2 separate regions of the Homo sapiens genome follow, and region 2 is linked to region 1. Evidence: promoter capture Hi-C in human tissues and cell types (Jung and others, 2019). All regions are on one chromosome and are shown on one strand. Each heading gives the region's core, a stretch centred on a gene start or on the middle of the fragment in contact. The rest is flanking DNA. Distances are from core to core; before and after follow the strand shown.

Region 1 (2,912 bases), core at 67-2,566:
TCCTCAGTGATAAGATCAATAAAGGTGAAAGGGCCATTTTTGTTATTCATGACGTCCCTTTTGACTATGTCTAAGTTTAAGTGAACAGGTAACTTTTGGAAAGTTTCTAAGGATAGCGGCTGGTTGCCAGGAGAATCAGCCATGTTATTCAGTAATCCCCTCCCATCTCTGGGGAGGAAAGAGGGACTGGAGATTTATTTAATCACCAATGACCAATGATATGATCAATCATACCTATGTAATGAAGTCTTCATAAAAACACAAGGGAACAGAGTTTGGAGAGCCTCTGGGTTGCTAAACACATGGAGGGACTGGGTGGATGGCATGCCTGGAGACAGCATGGAAGCGCTTATCTCCTCTAGTTTTTTAACTGCATTCTCTTTACTTGAAACTGTAACATTTGTTTGTATACTCGTTTATTTTTCTCTCAACTCTACTGTGAGTTCCATAAAAGAAGGGACTCTGCCTTGTTCACCCTTGTATCTTAAGTATCTAGCATAGTGTCTGGTATACAGTGGTACTCATGAGATTTTTGTAGAATGAATACATGAATACAGGGCAGAAGATTTAAACTGGGTCCCTAAATGCCAAGGACTCCATTTAAATACTCTACCTGCTCTGCGCTAAAGTTTGCCTTGCTCAGTTAGACTATTAGCAATGGTCTTAACATGAGTCTTTAATTTTACTGGTCAATGAGATTCAAGCATAACTTGGCTATGTCTGAAAACATGGCGGAGTATCTGACAGAGTCCTTCATGTAAGAGGGGCGTGGGGTAAAATCCACATGGGAAAGGATTGAAACTGTCTTCACTGCTCAGATTTGAAGAGATCTGGGTTTGTTTAAGAAGCTGGTGATGTGGTTCATCAGAAAAAGAGAAGGCATTTGACCCCAATCAAAGCCTTAGATTGAAGGAGGAAGTGGAGATTCTGAATAATGACCATGTCCATTTTGACCAGAGCAGAGTGTTCTTTCTGGTCTCATGAACAGGCTCATGATTCACAAAGACTAGCCTACTATTCCCATTCAACCTGTGTGAGGGGAAGAGCAGGAATGATTGCTCCTGAGCACGAGTGATGGGGGTTCCTAGAAATACTCCAAGGTGACTTTACATAGGGAGGAAATTTATTTCAGGATCTGGTGAAGTTGAGAGCTCACGTAAATTTGGTTTTAGAGAAGAAATGAAATATCAAATGGTACAGCATTTCCCACACTGGAAAAGGTGTTTGAGGACATGAGAGAGTTAATAAAGCAATTGCCCGTGACTTTCTGCTGAGACATCCACTAACTGATTTATCTCATCTTGATTGTGGGAGCCACAGTCTTGATGCATTCATTCTCAAGGACACTTGATCCACTGCCAGAGAGGCCCAGAATTTTCTAACTTACTGTGTGGCAGAATGAAGCCTCTGCTTGAAACCCTTTATCTTTTGGGGATGCTGGTTCCTGGAGGGCTGGGATATGATAGGTGAGTGTAAAGTGGGAAGAGGAACTGATTATTATAATTTAGATTGTCTAAATTGAATGGTTTCTTTTTAAGACCAATGCAGCTGGCTTCTCCTTCCTTGCTACTCATATATACCACCATGAGATGAGAATAATAAAGACCACTGAAATTTATCACTGAATAATCATAATCCTCTAATAATCCTTGAATAAATGAATAAATATCTAGCAAACATTTCCTAACACAATGCATGAGATATACAAATAGACATGTCATGTTTTGTGATTGGAAAAAGAAAATTGTAATACAAATTCTATATCCTTCATTTTCATAGTATCTCATTTGGTAAATCACATTATCCTAATTATTAAGAAAAATGTTAAAATGACCAAATAATTTCACCTAGAGATAAGTACTATTAATGTTTTCAGATAGCTACCTGATTATGTATGCAGCACTATTTCTGAAATATTTCACTTAAATTGTATTACAGAAATTTTCCTATGGCATTAGCAATTTATTTAAAACAGTTGAAATTGCTAATAATATTCTGTCATTTAGTCAATTCCTGCTTTTTCATTTTTACAAATAATGCTGTGATGAGCAACCAGCTACATAATTTTTTTTGCTTTTTGCAAATCTTTAATTATTTCTCTAAGAAGTGGAATTACTGGGTCAGTAACTGAGGAAAATGTAAGGATCTTGCTACACATTGCCCAATTACCCTCTAGAAAGATTACATCAGTCTACACTTCCAATAACAGTGTATGAAAGCACTTTTTAAGTGTTTGGCAAATTGACAAGTAAAAAATACACATTGTTGACTTCCTTTGTATTTTGTTGATTTATAAGAGTAAATATTTTATTACTAATTTTATCATTTTATAAATTGCCCATTAATGTCATTTGCCCATTTTTGTGGTCTCTCCCTACTCTTAATGAATCATAAGTTCTCTAAATACATTCTATTGAAATCTGTGTGTGTGTATGTGTGTGTGTATAGTTTCCATATAAAGTGTGTTTTTCCCTTGTTCATATGCAAATCATTATTTTGCTCATTTAGCATATCTCATGAAGTATATGTGGTTATAATTGGTATTTCCTCTTTTGCTTCATGGTTAAAGAAATCTTGCAATGAACTTGCTCTCACATAACATAGAAACCCACTCCAATTTTTGTCCCACAATAATTGTGTGACCTCAGCTTGTTCCTTATCTTCAGTTCAATTTCAGATACTTACAGAGTCCAGGATCTCTGTGATATCAAAAACCTGTTTGAATATTTCTTTCTCATTTTTCCATTAGTTTACTTGGTTTCATGTACATAGGGCATTTATTTTCCTTTCTGAAATTCCTCATCCATAAATTGGAAATGAAGACTCTTACATATTTTACAGGAAATACAAAAAAAATTATGCTGCTTAAAAATATCAAGAGCCTTAAAACATAAATCTTTTGGCCTAGTGTT
Region 2 (2,700 bases), core at 69-2,568, 40 kb before region 1:
GCCATTCTGTGTCTTTTAATTGGGGCATTTAGCCCATTTACATTGAAGGTTAACATTGTTATGTGTGAATTTGGTGCTGTCATCATGATGCTAGCTGGTTATTTCACCCATTAATTAATGCAATTTCTTCATAGTGTCAGTGGTCTTTACAATTTGGTATGTTTTTGCAGTGGCTGGTACCGGTTGTTCCTATCCATATTTAATGCTTCCTTCAGGAGCTCTTGTAAGGCACGCCTGGAGGTGACAAAATCTCTCAGCATTTGCTTGTCTGTAAAGGATTTTATTTCTCCTTTACTTATGAAGCTTAGTTTGGCTGGATATGAAATTCTGGGTTAAAAATTCTTTTCTTTAAGAATGTTGAACATTGGCCCCCACTCTCTTCTGGCTTGTGGGTTTCTGCCGAGAGAGATCCACTGTTAGTCTGATGGGCTTCCCTTTGTGGGTAACTCGACCTTTCTTTCTGGCTGCCCTTAACACTTTTTCCTTCATTTCAACCTTGGTGAATCTGACAATTATGTCTTGGGGTTGATCTTCTCGAGGAGTATGTTTATGGTGTTCTCTGTATTTCCTGAATTTGAATGTTGGCCTGCCTTGCTAGGTTGGGGAAGTTTTTCTGGATAATATCCTGAAGAGTGTTTTCTCACTTGGTTCCATTCTCCCCGTCACTTTCAGGTACACCAATCAAACGTAGATTTGATCTTTTCACATAGTCCCATATTTCTTGGAGGCTTTGTTCATTTCTTTTTACTCTTTTTTCTCCAATCTTGTCATCTCACTTTATTTCATTATTTTGATCTTCAATCACTGATATCCTTTCTTCTGCTTGATCAAATTGGCTACTGAAACTTGTGTATGCTTTACGAAGTTCTCATACTGTGGTTTTCAGCTCATCAGGTCATTTAAGCTCTTCTCTACACTGATTATTCTAGTTAGCCATTCATCTAACCTTTTTTCAAGGTTTTTGGCTTCCTTGCAATGGGTTAGAATATGCTCCTTTAGTTGGAGAAGTTTGTTATTCCCGACCTTCTGAAGCCTACTTCTGTCAGTTCGTCAAACTCATTCTCCATTCAGTTTTGTTCCCTTGCTGGTGAGGAGTTGTGTTCCTTTGGAGGAGAAGAGGCATTCTGGTGTTTGGAATTTTCAGCCTTTCTGCTCTGGTTTCTCCCCATCTTTGTGGTTTTATCTACCTTTGGTCTTTGATGTTGGTGACCTAAGGATGGGGTTTGGTGTGGATGTCCTTTTTGTTGATATTGATGCTATTCTTTTCTGTTTGTTAGTTTTCCTTCTGACATATGGGCCCCTCAGCTGCAGATCTGTTGGAGTTTGCTGGAGGTCCACTCCAGACCCTGGGTGTCACCAGCAGATGCTGCAGAACAGCAAATATTGCTGCCTGATCCTTTCTCTGGAAGCTTCATCCCAGAGGGGCAGCCACCTATGAGGTGTCTGTCAGCCCCTACTGGGAGGTGTCTCCCAGTCAGGCTACACGGGGGTCAGGGACCCACTTGAGGATGCAGTCTGTCCATTATCGGAGTTTGAATGCTGTACTGGGAGAACCACTGCTCTCTTCAGAGCTGTCAGGCAAGGATGTTTAAGTCTGTAGAAGCTGTCTGCTGCCTTTTGTTCAGGTATGTCCTGCCCCCAGAGGTGGAATCTAGAGAGGCAGTAGGCCTTGCTGAGCTACGGTGGGCTCCACCCAGATAGAGCTTCCCTGCTGCTTTGTTTACACTGTGAGCATAGAACCACCTACTCAAGCCTCAGCAATGGTGGCCACCCCTCCCCCTGCCAAGCTCCAGCATCCCAGATCGATCTCAGACTGCTGCACTAGCAGTGAGCAAGGCTCCGTGGGTGTGGTACCTGCTGAGCCAGGCATGGGAGGGGATCTCCTGGTCTGCCAGTTGTGAAGACCATGGGAAAAACACAGTATTTGGGCAGGAGTGTACCACTCCTCCAGGTACAGTCACTCATGGCCTCCCTTGGCTAGGAAAGGGAAATCCCCCTACCCCTTGCACTTCCCGGGTGAGGCAATGCCCTGCCCTGCTTTGGCTCACCCTCTGTGGGCTGCACCCACTGTCCAACCAGTCCCAATGAGATGAACCAGGTACCTCAGTTGGAAATGCAGAAATCGTCCGTCTTCTACATCGATATCACTGGTAGCTGTTCCTGTTTGGCCATCTTGGGAGGAGGGCCAGCATTACCTTTTCTATTTCTGTGAAGAATGTCATTGGTATTTTCATAGGAATTGCATTGATTCTGTAGATTGCTTTAGGTAGTATAGCCATTTTAACAATATTGATTCTTCCAACCCATGATCATGGAATATCTTTCCTTTTCTTTTTGGTGTCCTCTTAAATTTCTTGCATCATGTTTTACATTTTCATTGTAGAGATCTTTCACTTCTTTAGTTAAGTATATTCCTAGGTGTCTTGTTTTATTTGTAGCCACTATAAATGGGATTACTTTCTTGATTTCTTTTTTCTAATTGTTCACTGTTGGCACATAGAAATGTTACTGATTTTTGTATGTTGATTTTGTGTCCTGCAACTTTACTGAATTTGTTTATCCACTGTAATAGATTTTCAGGGTACTCTTTAGTTTTTTCCAAAAATAAGCCATGTCATCTGAAAACAAGCAAAATTTGACTTCTTCTTTTCCAGTCTGGATGCCCTTTATTTCTTTCTCTTGTCAAATTGCTCTAGTTAG

What was found. The method cuts DNA at HindIII sites, captures the fragments that hold promoters and counts their contacts. A contact is called where the count stands out against the background at its distance.
Region 2: a contact is called between a fragment that was not itself captured here and the fragment with the promoter of CPO in region 1, in 2 of the 25 tissues and cell types used here (bladder and hippocampus).

What each region holds. Positions count from the first base shown.
Region 1 is chr2:206,938,202-206,941,113 of GRCh38, forward strand. It overlaps CPO (carboxypeptidase O), which reads left to right and starts at 1,317. Exons shown (of 9, transcript NM_173077.3): 1 at 1,317-1,466. The coding sequence starts at 1,399. The HindIII fragment of the contact is 12,088 bases long and covers 1-2,912 here.
Region 2 is chr2:206,898,174-206,900,873 of GRCh38, forward strand. No RefSeq gene overlaps it. Among named protein-coding and RNA genes, the nearest start is that of CPO, 40 kb to the right of the region's middle. The HindIII fragment of the contact is 3,919 bases long and covers 1-2,700 here.